Linked DNA regions of Homo sapiens: region 1 is linked to region 2. The links are contacts of gene promoters, found by promoter capture Hi-C in blood cells and fetal thymus (Javierre and others, 2016). All regions are on one chromosome and are shown on one strand. Each heading gives the region's core, a stretch centred on a gene start or on the middle of the fragment in contact. The rest is flanking DNA. Distances are from core to core; before and after follow the strand shown.

Region 1 (6,993 bases), core at 3,922-6,421, 3.4 Mb after region 2:
TTACAGTTGAGTTTCATTACTAGCTCCTGACCACCCTGGGCTGCCTTCCTCTTTGCCATTCCTTAGGGAATGGTAGTGAGTTGGTCATTAAATATCTTTAGAGATTTTAGCAGTTTGAACTATGATGCATATTAGAGTATTTGATCACTAATATGTATGAAAAAGTTCATAGTGTCTTAGGGTCAAGGCTGTAAGTATTTAGGAAGTTTATGCACCTGTCTTCTAATCTGAGAAGCAGACAATTTATTTTAATGGTGAATTAGTCCATTCTTGCACTGCTATAAAGAAATACCTGAGACAGGGTAATTTATAAAGAAAAGGGGTTTAACTGGCTCACAATTCCGCAGGCTGTACAAGAAGCATGGTAGCATCAGCCTCTGCGGAGGCCTCAGGGAACTCACAATCAGGGCAGAAGGCAAAGAGGGAGCCAGCACCTCAACTGACTAGAGTAGGAGGAAGAGAGTGAGGGGGGGAGGTGCTACACACTTTTAAACAACCAGATCTCATGATAACTCACTCACTGACTATCATGAGAACAGCACTGAGGGGATGGTGCTAACCCATTCATGTGAATTCCGCCTCCATGATCCGATCACCTAATACCAGTCTCTGCCTAGAACACTGGGGATTACATTTCAACATGAGATTTAGGTGGGGACACAGATCCAAACCATATCAAATGGTGAAGCATAGGTTAAAAAAAAATCAACCTTGTGAACATTAAAAAATATCTGAGTCCTCAAAGTGTGTTTCTCAGGTCCTTAAAGCATATCACCTGTGGCTTGGAAGTACATAAAATGTAGGCTCCTCTTTCTTTTTCATTATTGTAAAGTCAGAGAAAAAGCCAACTTAGAGCCATGCCCACAGTACAAAATCTGTTCAACAAGATTAGATTGTCTTTTGTTATTTCTTCCTTCCTTTGTCTTCATTTTATAAACGTATGCATGCACACAGCTTTTAAACAAGAGGCTAATTGATTAGGAAACCAGTGTTGATTTGATGTAAGCAACAATCCAAAAAGTAGAAAATATTATTATTGTTTACTACAAATGTATGGACTCAAAACTAGCTTAACTGTTATTATTCCTCAAGAGAATTTATTTTTACTCAGCCTCTTCTCGGAGAAGAGTGCTTTAGACCAAAGCTAGCAATTATAAAGCTAAGAAATCAGGCAACTGCAATACTACCAAACTACAAAAAATTTACACTAAACTAGTAAAGTTAAATGTCATTTTTAAAAAGCCCCTCTTACATTCTAGTCTATTGACAGGCATTGTGTTGGGAACTTGGTAGAGGAAAGAAAACTTCAAAAATATTTTAAAAGATTTACCGACAACAAATATACCTTGTTATTTTTCTAGTATGTAATTATTATTATGACTTTTTTCCCCCACTGATTTCTAAAGACCCGTATACTGATATAAAAACTAAAATTTTGTGCAATTCAAGATCCTCATTTCCCTCCTCTTTTCTAAAATAATTTTTTTTTTTTTGAGACAGAGTTTTGCTCTTGATGCCCAGGATGGAGTGCGATGGCACAATCTCAGCTCACTGCAACCTCCACCTCCTGGGTTCAAGCGATTCTCTTGCCTCAGCCTCCTGAGTAGCTGAGATTACAGGCATGTGCCACCATGCCTGGTTAATTTTGTATTTTTAGTAGAGACGGGGTTTCTCCATGTTGGTCAGGCTGGTACCGAACTCCCAACCTCAGGTGATCCGCCTGCCTTGGCCTCCCAAAATGTTGGGATTACAGGCATGAGCTACTGTGCCGGCCTACAAAAATCTTAAACAAAAAAGTTGTAATACACTAGCTGATCACTGTAGTGAAAATGAAAATGCGTATTTGTGAGAGCTGAGAAATGACACCAGATAGAGAAGAAATTATTTGACTCTAATTTTTCTTACAAAGATTAAATTGGGATTTTAATATATAAAACCTTGAATATACATAGAATATTAAACGAAATAGTTCTAATTCAAATTGAGAATTGTCTTTTACACTGAAGGGAACTATGATTTCAAAAACAAAGGACTTATTCCATGCTTACATGCTGAGATATTATCAGAGCTGAAATGTTAAGAGATGGTACCTAAGGTAATATTTGTATATTCTCTATATAATGACTGAGAACCAGTTAAAAGGCTTATTTTAAAAAGCTAGAAAAGCAATTACGAAAATTTAGGGTTCTGTGGAAAAATTCGATCATGGCATGAACTCCATTAATGATGATTTGCCAGCAAACACTGGTTAGAAAAAGCTGGCTGAGAGAATAGCAAGGATAACCAATTAGGATTAGAACATCAGCCCTATTGCTATAAAATAACTATTGACAGTAGATCAATGGTATTAAGATCACATATACTAGAACCAGACTGCCAGGCTTTAAAGTCCAGGACCAACAGTTATGAGCTGTGTGACTTCAAACTGTATTTCTTAGGTCGCCAAGGTTCAGTTCTATCACATTTAAAATAGAAAATGACAGTAGTCATTCCAAAGCTATCTTGAGTTAAATAAGATAATCCACATAAGGGGTTTAGCACAGTGCCTGGCACATAACAACAGCTTGCCATCACCACTACAGCAACCCTGGGCAGTCCAACTTTTTGGCTGTTTCCTTAAATGTAAAATACAGGGTTTGGACTAGATAATTTCTAATGTCTTTACTCATCTAAAATTAAAATTCTACAATGTATCAACAATATACAAGCCAACTCTATTTCCAAAGAACATAAATTTGGATTTTCACCCCAGCATGATTTAAGTACTGTAAAAGAAACTTATTTTTAAGATATCCTTTTATTTTTATTTAATTTTTTAGAGATGGGGTCTTGCTATGTTGCCCAAACTGGACTTGAACTCCTAGGCTCAAGCAATCCTCTCACCTTAACCTCTGGAGTAGCTGAGATTGTAGGAACACACCACTGTTCCTGTTATGTCATCTTTTGAAATTAGCTATAATCACTACATTTATTAAAGCTGAAGTTATAGATATTCTATGTAATCCACAAGAAATCCATAATCTTCCATCACATACTGTTTGGTGACCATAATAATTTCTGAATAACAAGTCCTAACAGGAATTTCAAGGTATATAATCCCCCACTATATTTTTTTAAACAATAAGAACATTTCATACCCCATACTTAGTAAACAGAAAATAAAGATCATGAAAAATTTCAAATATATAATACAGAAAAAAGGAAAGAACTATTTTGAAACTGTCCAAAATCTAGAGGTTTAATAAAGTCTCTCTACTGATATGTTACAACTCAAAACTCAAATTACAGGCCAAATTTTTTTTGCAGGAATATTAAGGTTTTTTTTAGTATGACTCATAAATATCTAAACCAAAAATCAATTGTAATATGACAACACTAACTGCACCAACCCAAATAAATCCTTCCAATAGGGCTTTTTTTTGGGGTTTCTTTTTGGATTTGGAGAATTTTTCTTCATATATCTTAGGGACATTATTAAAAAAATTTTAAAAACCTTTTCAGGTTTTAAAAATTACCAACAGTGTGTGTGATCACTGAAAAGAGGTTAATCTAAAAATTTTAAAGTATTTTTCCAGATAATAAGATCATACTGGTGAGAAAAGAGTTCGGGCTCATCTCACTCAAATACTTGCATAATAGGCTCGAAAGAATAAAAAAATTGTTATGTTACTTCTTAATATAAAAAACACACAGGTCTGTTAAAATCTGACAATTCAATAAGCTCTCAAACCAGAAAACACGTTTCCCAGTCAACACTCATACTTATTTCTGTATTAGGAAAAATGGGGTTGTTGCAGGGGTCTTTAAAAAAAAAAGATTTCTCTTAAATTCGTAACTCTGTTAACTGCACCTTCATTTCCAGAAACCTTATCTTTAACAAATCTCTACACTATTCATACTTAGCACAATTTCCAATCATTGAAGACATTTTAGTTTTACCTTACAATCAGTACAAAGCAGCTGTGTTAAATTCATTCCATAAGATCAAAACTATACTGTGTCCTTACCCTCAATATTTAGCTCAAAACAAATGTGGCAGAAGGAGAGTGTTTCTTTGTCTGTTCCCAGTTTACAAACACTGCAAATGTTGTCATCATTCAAATCAATGTTTACAAACTGCTCCTCTTCGTTCATAGTGCCCCTATTAAGAAACAGAAAAGGAAAGTTACACAATTTCATGAACCTGCCTTTGGGGTAGTTCCCTTTACTGGGAACTTCTAGGAAATAAGGATGCTGTTCAGCTCATTTAAAGCAAAAGCTCCATCAAACAAGCATCGCCATACTTGCACTCCAACATTGCACTTTTCCTGTGGAAAGACACAAAGCTAGTAAAACTTAAAGCCAGGCCATAGGTGACACTATGTCCGTGTCTTTTTTGTCCTATAGTTGATTGGGTTAGTGGCACCTGAAGGAAAGAGATTTGCCGGCATTCTAGTCCTCCTCCTTCGTCCCCCAACCTCGAATAATCAGAGGGCTTAGCAGCGAGGCCTTTTCAGCTACCAGGTTCTGTCAACCTAGTTAACGCTGTGAGAAACAGGAAAAACGACCTGCACGGGACACTGCTTTGCTAACTTCATTGGGGGAACCTCAGATGCGCCTCGCGAACTCGGAGTTGCGAAGCTTCGCATCGAACGGAGATCGGCGGCAGCAAAATGCACGTGGGTACCGAATACCCGGGGAGGGCGTCCCGCCGTGTCCGGGGCAACTACACCGAAGGCCGAGCGGCGGCTTCACGGTACCGGCCGGGCACCGCCGGAGGGGCCCAAGCCGGAGCTGGGAGAGCCGCGGCATCCTGGAGCCCGGCGGGCGGGAGAGCCTCGTCCCATCGCTCCGGGATTCCTCCCAGAGGGAAGAAAGCGTCCGAGGGCCACGGCGGCCGGTCCGCCCAGCCTCAGCGTCTCGGGGAGCCGGGTCCTGGCCCGGCCTTCGGCGTTGGGGGCGCGCGGCCGCCCCCAGGGAGTCGCGGACCCAAGTCCGTCTTTCCGTCGGTCTGTCCGTCGGGGCGCCTGGCGCGCAGCAGCGCGAGGGGCCACGGGGCTCGGAACTCGAAGGAGGCGGAACGATGGGACTGGGGGTCGGGGCTCAGGTGGGATGGGAGCAGGGCTGCGGGGTCTTTACCGTCCGGCTCCGCGGGCCACCACCGCCGTTCCGTGCGGCTCGGGTTCCTCCACTATTGTTTCCGGCCGCAGCAGAGGCGGCCGCCGCGCGCCTGGCCCCGCCCTCTCCCGCCGGCTCCATCCCGTAAAGGCTGCGGGGAGGGTGGCGCGGCCGCGGGCACACCTGCGCGCTCGCCGGGCTGCTGTGGGTCCGCCCCTCCGCTCCTGCACCGACGCCGCACCTTCGCCTCGAGTTCTCCTGTGATCCCGTGTTTCCTGGCCGGAGTTTCTTACCGTTCTCTGGAACGTAGCTCCTCACACACCCCTCCTCGAGGTGCGTAGATAGACGAATCCGTTCCACCTCTCCCTTCAGCCTAGTGCAAACTACTGCCCCGGGGCGGGGGCCGCAGGCGGCGGGGGTAGGAAAGCCGCGGGTGGATGGCAGAACGGGAGAGGTGCGTGGGTGGCACTTTGACTTCAGGAGAAAGAAGCAGAATACTGTCACTGAACTTATAGTTAAGTGCCAGTTGAAGTATCTAACGAAGGAAAAGTTCATATTCAGGTGTCATGATAGAGGCATAATTTCAAATACAGAATCTTTTCAAATACATTATTTGTTGTGGGGCGCCCCTGCCCCCAATATGGTACATCCCTCAACGCCCACGGGAAAAATCCCGAAGCCCCACCTCTTATTTTTAGGTCCTGCTTGGTTCTCAAATTCTTTGCTTGACTTTTGTTTAAGCTATTCTGTTTTTTTTAGGGTATGGTTCTTGCAGTACTTTCACTTACATTTTCCATTGTAGTCCTCACAGTAACCTACAGAGGAGAAACAGGAACTGTTCTCTCATGTTGCAGCCTACGAGTAATTGACCCAGGTTATCACAGTTGGTTAGAAAAAGGCTGGGACTTGAACCGAAGGCTACTGACCTAAGATCAATGTTATTTTCTACAGCATCATATGTATGTGTTCTGGTTGCACTCACATAGAAAGAGGGCTAGCCTGTCAATCTACATGTAGGCATTCTTGAACTGATGGTTAGGAATGGACTGTCTAGATCTTGGAAACTTCTGGGCCAAATTAGCACTCCAGTTATGGCATTTGTGCCTCGCAGGAGCGATCTGTGTCCTTGCCACCTAAATTGTAGTAGATGAACAAACAACATTGACATTACTTGGTTTCCTGTTAGAAATGTAGAATCTCAGGCCCCACTCGAGATTTCCTAAATCAATACTTGCACTTTAACAAGACCGCCAGGAGATTCCTATGTTCATCGAAGTTTGAGATGCACTAATTGAAATGAAAAGCCTGTGCTTTTTCTCTTCGAATTTCTCATTCTAGGTAACTACGACTAAGATACCTTGCATGTTGGATTCTACCCATCTTTTCAATAAAAAGCATTCTTTTAAAAAGGACTCTTTTAAAGTGATTCAATAAAAGTGTTCTAAAATCACTAAAATTTAAAAATTGAAACAAGTTATTTTCACTTCTCAGAATTGTCTTCCTTCCTATGGCATTTCACATTGTTTACTTGCTATTCTTAAAACTCTTCTCTCTTGTTGTTGGCTTTTTAAAAAAAATCAAGGAATAATTTACAGAAATAAAATGCTTCCATTTTAAAAGCATTATTTGATGAGTTTTGGCAAATACATACACTTGAGTAACCACCACCCCAGTGAGGATACAGAACATTTCCACAGCCCCGACATTTCTTTCTGTTCCTTTCTGGTCAAGCTCCTTCAACATGGGATCTAATTTATATGACGAAGTGTTTTAGTTTTGTCTGTTATAGGAATTCATATACATAGAATTAAGCAGTGTGTGTTCATTTGTGATTGGCTATTGTCATGCAGCATGTTTTTGAGATTCACGATGGTATTTTGTAACAGTGGTTTCTTT
Region 2 (6,644 bases), core at 1,506-4,005:
AAAGAAAATTAAAATATCAATAAAATTCTAAAAATTCTGATCTCACTAAAAAAAATCAAAATAAATAAAAATTAATACAGGATACTATTTTTCACTTATCTGACTGTTAAAGATTAAAAAAAATAACTAGCGAAGATACAGCCACTCTAAAAAATTATGGTTAAGAGCATATAACCTTTCTGGTGAGCAAACCAGAAAAATAAATCAAAAGCCTTAAAAACGTACACATTTGACCTATCAATTAGACTTCTAGCATTCAAGTTAGGAAACTTTCAGAGAAGTGTACAAAGATAAGTAAGGATATTACCGGAATCTCCAACATTAGTGAAAAACCACAAAAAAGTACACTGATAGAGACTAGTCTAATTAATAATGGAATAGTCATTCCACAAAATCATTAAAGATAATGACATGATCCTATTAATTATCCATGACATATTAAATAGCAAAAAATAGCACACCTGGTATGTTCTCTTTATATGTATATAAATATGTACACATACACACACAGAATATCTATCTATGGTACACAGGGCTTCATCAACCTTCCTGCTACCTTGAAAGAGCTAAGCAAGACATGCTGAGGATGGGACAGCAAGAAAATGGCAAGGCCTTAAGTACCTGTTAGCATTATGGAGTCAGTGATTAACTGATCCTATAGCTGCTGTGGAATTTCTGGTTATGTGAGATAACAGAACTTTCATGTATTAATAGATAAAACTAGACGAGATAGAATGTTTTGTGACATGAAGCCAAAGCATTAACTAAAAGAGTACACTAAAATTAATATAGATTTTAGATTAATCACTTACCTTAAATGGGTATCTGCCAATTTCAGCCTCCAACTCTTCTGCGGTAAAAATCTTGCCTATGAATCTTTTGGCATCATATATTGTGTTTTGAGGATTTGAATCTGCCAGCTCTACGCTTTCATATCCCACATATACATCATTGTCAGTAAAAGACACCATGCTGGGTATGCTGATATGCCCATTTTCATCTGGAATCACCTTTACTTTTCCTGTGCCAGGAAAAAACACCCCAACAGAACAATAGGTGGTGCCAAGATCAATACCAATCACTTTAGGAGTAGGCAATGGTAAATACTGTTGTGCCAAATAGCCGGCCAACAGGAGAGTCAAAACAGCCGATCCTGAAATAAAGGAAAATTAAAAGATGTATTTTATCAAACTAGTACAATGTACTAAATTACTGTAGCAAAGTCCCTTTAATATCACTCGTTGAAACAAGGCTAAAAAAGACAAATTTCAAAATTTTTTATAGGACTGCTGATAGCACTCCTCTCAGACAGCAAGTTTTTCAAAATGTAAACTGGTTATAATAAAATTTAAAATGAAGTAAACACAAACAACAAAAAACCCTATAACTGTATGTTTGTGTCATTCTCTAATAAATGTAATAAAATGTAAAAATATTTCAATAATATTTGTGCAGATGCTGACAAGAAACAACATTTATCTGGAGCAAAAGCCAGATATAATCTAATATTCTTGATCAATTGATATTTAGATTTTACAGCTTTATAAAAAGCTTCGATTATCTTTTTTTAAAAGCTCCATTATTAAAATTCTCACAAGAAAAACTTTATTATTTTATAAGTCTAAAATTCTCTCCTCGTATCTCACCTCCTTTTCCCTTTCAAAAGGATGAAATGAATAAATGGGATAAAATGATTTTGAAAGTTCCTTAGATATGAAACTGTCACTTCAAAACAGAACACAGTTAACTTTTTATGTATTTAAGTATGAACTAGGGACTTCCTTCTTGCAGTGGTAATATTTAGGGGAGAAGAAGCATAAAGGTGGGCAACCCTGACGGCAACATCTATGAAAGCTTCTTGAAGACAAGTTTCGTTCACTGTTGTATCCCCCAGACCAGGAATAGCAGATGCCCAACAAATACTAATTTAAAAAAAAAAGAAAAAAGAGTAGGAACAAATGCCACGCAGATTGTAAACATAAGCGAAGAAAGATGCCCCTTTAGTTTTTAATGAATCTCGTATTTGGTATCAGGAGGCTGTGTTATACACCTGTGTCCGCTCATATTACATATGACCCAAAACATGAATTTTCAGGGCTCTGTGTTACTAATTGTTAGCTCATCCTCATCAACACATAACTCAAAGAAATAAAACCAAGTGCGAATCCCACTTTCCACTTCCAGCTACAGGCAACATTTCAGAAGCATTTCATCACCTTGGAGACGCGGGGTGGGTGTGTGTGTGGGTGGGGGATAGGTAATTCCAAACCCGATGTGATGGAAAAAGCCTCCAAATTCAGCATCCCTGAGCCGACAGATCCGGATGTAGCTCCTCCCCCTTCCTCCACAAAGGGGTCCTGGAGGTGCACGTTCTCGCAGCCTTCCATAGCTTGCCCCAATTCAACAGGCAATTCAAAAACCTAGGTGCTGTTGAAAGGAACGCCTCCCTAAGCCTGATGTCCCTGGGATGGACACAGCTGGTCGCCGTCTATCCTACCTTGGCCTGCAGGGGCCGGGGCCCTCCTAGAGGCGTCCCCGCCCCCATCCACTCCGAACAGCCGAAAACCGTCTCTAAGTCACCTTTCTGACTCCCCTTCCGCTGCTCCAGCTAGATCCAGGAGGTGAGTCAACCACCCCTGCCCACTCTGGCATCCTCAGATCGCCTCTACGCCCGCAAGAGCAACAAGGACCCCCGGGAACCCACCTAAGATCGTCATCTCTCTGGCCATCACAGTCCCGCCGAACAGGCTTGTGATGACTGTACCAGACGTGAGGCACCGCCCCCACTCCTCCCGGCAGTCCCGCAGCCCCCTGGGAAATGTAGTCCGCTTGCTCTGAGGCAATCGGAGAAGCTATCGCTCTGACCAAAGCAAGGACTTCATCTACCGTGAGGGCGCGGGGCAAAGAGCCTCCATTCAACCGCTGCCAGTGACGACTGAGTCCCCCTTCCACGCAACGGCCGGCAGGACCAGTGAGACTGAGGGGGAGGAGCGCCGTGGCGAGAGACTGGCGTTTATAATCAAACCTGTGGTCCCGCGATCCTACTTGAGGGAAAACAGGCTATCTCTTTAGCCCCGCCCCGCGCTTTGCATTCTGGGAAGCGGAGTTCCAGCCTTTCTCTTTCCGCGGGAGGGAATGAAAGGGAGGGTGAGAACCGTTAGTTATTTCTTTCTTTGGTCGTGCCCCTAATCAGGTCCAGGATTCGAGTTTGTGTTCTTTCGTTTTAATTCCTTTTAAAGCGCGTTCGTTTGCCTGAGATCTAGCTTCTAGATGGCGTTCCTATAGCCTCCCGGAGCCCCAGCCATCCTCCGTAGAAGGGTCCCTGCCGCAGTGCGGGGCCTGAGGGAAGTCGGCTCTGGCGTCCGTGCTCCAACGCTGGGAGCAGCCCTGAAACTCCAGTGACCCTCAGCCGTCTGCCTTTGTTTTGGGATAAATGAATTCAAGCATTCTTCAGTCAATTCGATTTATCCAAGGGATCAGGGACACATTTTCTCTATTGCTAGCACTGACGTGGGCCATTAAAAACAAAAACAAAAACGAAATTAAAAAGAAAACCCTTAGCTCTCTCTTCAAGTAAGTCTTAAGTGGCCAAAATTGACCTTATGGGCAAGTCCTGTAACGTGACAGCCATTTTAGGACGCTTGTGACATGCTGTTCAGGTTCTAGTCTGAAGTAGGATTTTTCTCGCATCTTGGTCACTGGTAGCACTTAATGACTCCTCTGAGAGTGGTTTTGTCATTTTTGCTGTTAGAGTTCACGATAACTAAGATCCTGGAGAATTGAATCCATTTTCTCAGCTTAGATATAAATCAAACCATCCCTGTTGACAACACGTCAGCCTGCTGTGGGAATACATTGCTGGTTATTTCTGACTTATCAATGTGAATTTTGATTATGGAAGCTGAATTCTGGTTGATAGGGATCCATTGTAATGTTCTCTCTACTTTTGCGCATTTTTAAGTATTTCATAATGCGAAATATAAAAAGTGTGTGTCTATAGTGAGTGCTGTTCAATAAGATTCTTATAAGGAGTGAAGAATTCAAGCACTTAGTTCTTAAGTATTACTTGTAATGGGCAGTGGGCTGGAGGTGTTCCAGGCAGACGGAACTCAATTACCAAGAGCACAGAAGCAAGAGATCATCTATTCCATAGATTAGAAAGTGGTGGATCATAAAGCATGAGGTAGAATTCTGAGAGACAGAACTAGAGACTTAAACCAGATTAAGATTAGCCGTCTGTGACAAGCACTGGTCATTGGGATTCTCCCTGCCACTCACTCCTTTCTCCTTGCTAACAAGATCCTGATTTGTTCAAGAAGCAGGTAAAGATTATGTGATCTCAGAGTAGAAGGCCTTTAGAATTAAGATTGAACTAAATAGGTTGTATTCATTTTCTATTTCTGCCTTAACAAATTACCACAAATTTAGTGTCTTAAACCAACTCAAATCTATTATTTTTACAGTTCGGTATATCAGAAATTTGGTATGGGTCTCACTTAACTAAAAGCAAGTTATTAGCAAAGCTGCATTCCTTTCTGGATGTTCTAGGGGAGAATCAGTTTCCTGCTAATTTGAGTTATTGGCAGAATTCATTTTCTTGCAGTTGTAGGGTTCAGGTCTTCATTTTCTTGCTGGCTGTAACCTGAGAGCTGTTTCCAGTTTCTGAGGCCATACACATATCTTAGCTCAGAGACCCTCTTTCTCCATCTTCAAAGCCAGCAACAGCGGGTCAGGTCCTTTACAGAGGACATTTTTTTGCATCGCTCTTCCAAATTTTAGATGTCATGTGTTTACATTGGACCTATCTGGACAACTCAACGTAATCTCCATTTCAAACCCTGTAAACTTATCATATCTGCAAAGTCCGTTTTGCCATGTAAGGTAACTATTCACGAGTTCTAACAGTTTGAGGAGGCCTTTATTATGCCTACTAAAATGGTTCTGTGGCCCCTCAGATTCACATCTGTCCACATACAAAATGCAACATCCACCAAAGTCCCATCCCATTATAGCATGAACTCAAAGTCCAGAAAGTTCATCTATACTTCATCAGTTCAAAAGTCTCGCATCTCATTATCTAAATCAACTAAATGGGGTAGTAACTGATACCACTTATCCCTTCTTGTTTGTTTACAATCAGAGGAACAATGAAATACTTAGATAAGAATGCTGGTGAGACTATTCCAGTAATGTTATAAAGAACAGAAAAGTCAAGGCACTGGGGTTGGGAAGTAATCATTGTTATCATTCTCCAATAGTGACCAATTAATTCGTTGTTTTTATAGTTATTGTTTGGTGTTTTATGTTACAATCCATTGCAATTATTATCCTTCTTGATACTTAGATTGCTTTAATTTTGGCCGATGGCAGCCTCTTCAAAATTCACTCATGAATGCTTTTGACACAATCGCTTTACTTACTGCCTTGCTACCTGCTCTAAAAAGATATCTAGAATCCTCTTATTTTTTTTTGTTTGTTTTGTTTTGTTTCATACTTATAATTAACTGTATGTCTAAGGAACCCTGCTTTCTTTTATTAAGAAAGTGTGGTATCTGGAGACCATAATTTGTATGCCAGGGGGTTATTATTTTAAGGGTGCCAGTTCTTTTTATATCTTTGAATTCAGTGAAATATCAAATAAAAAGCCAGCAGGATATTTTATGACTTGATAAAATGACAATAAAATTTATTTGGAATATTTAAGATAAGAATTTAATGGGTATATAGTCCTTGCGCATGTTAAGTGACAAAACTACAAACTTAATACTACAGAGGAAACAGAAAATGGACTTTAGGCTCAGCAGCAGCACATGCTTGTAGCCCCAGCTACTCGGGAGACTGAGGTGGAAGGAACACCTGAGCCCAGGATTTTGAATCCAGCCTAGGCAGCATAGCAAGAACCCTATTGCAAAAAACTAAATAAAAGAAATAAAAATAAAACAGACCTAAGAAGAAAGTGGCAATCTCTTCAAAATAAATGAAAGCTATATTATTCAACAAATGTAACAGGGCAGTTGGCTATTTATAACTTTGAATGTAAAAAGGGATATTATACCTTAACATCAAAATAAATATAAATAGATAAAATGTTTAATTAAATAACTACAAGTAGTTTTATTCATTAACTTAGGGGTAGGAGAAGTCTTTGAAATTAAGACTTAAAACCTAGAAACAAATAAGGCAAAACTAAACTTAACAGATAAATTTGATTATGTAGAATTTAAGATTATCTAGCAGGCAGAATTACCTATTTGAATTTATATGAAGTCAAAAGACAAATGACAAACTGAAGAAATACTAAACATACATCATGATCTATAATAGATTTAATTCCTTTATGGAGAATTCCTTCAGAGTATAAAGGTGTACAACTCAATTGAAAAATAAGAAAGGACATAGACAATAGAAAATAAAAATAACCAACAAACATGAAAATATATTCTACCTTAGTCACACTTAAATAAACATAAATCAGAATAATAACATGTCATTTCTACCTATCTGTAATCAGTTGAATTGTGGCCCCCTCCAAAAAAGGTATGCTGGAGTGCTAAACCCCTGTACCTCAGAATGTGACTTTATTTGGAAATAAAGTTGTTGGACATATAATCAGATAATATGAGGTCACACAGAAATAGGGTGGT

The links. The method cuts DNA at HindIII sites, captures the fragments that hold promoters and counts their contacts. A CHiCAGO score of 5 or more calls a contact.
Region 1: a contact is called between the fragment with the promoter of C21orf91 here and the fragment with the promoter of HSPA13 in region 2, in 4 of 17 cell types (M0 macrophages, total B cells, total CD8 T cells and 1 more). The highest score is 8.2, in M0 macrophages.

What each region holds. Positions count from the first base shown.
Region 1 is chr21:17,814,185-17,821,177 of GRCh38, forward strand. It overlaps C21orf91 (chromosome 21 open reading frame 91), which reads right to left and starts at 5,172. Exons shown (of 5, transcript NM_001100420.2): 1 at 5,119-5,172; 2 at 4,008-4,141. The coding sequence starts at 4,134. All of the region lies in intron 2 of LOC124900465 (a long non-coding RNA gene), which reads left to right. RefSeq lists a silencer at 4,787-5,566 and an enhancer at 5,817-5,866. The HindIII fragment of the contact is 2,618 bases long and covers 4,619-6,993 here.
Region 2 is chr21:14,380,391-14,387,034 of GRCh38, forward strand. HSPA13 (heat shock protein family A (Hsp70) member 13) reads right to left here and starts at 2,756. Exons shown (of 5, transcript NM_006948.5): 1 at 2,705-2,756; 2 at 813-1,153. The coding sequence starts at 2,729. LOC105369304 (a long non-coding RNA gene) reads left to right here and starts at 2,376. Exons shown (of 2, transcript XR_007067924.1): 1 at 2,376-6,644. RefSeq lists enhancers at 2,463-2,772, 3,163-3,292. The HindIII fragment of the contact is 7,322 bases long and covers 1,853-6,644 here.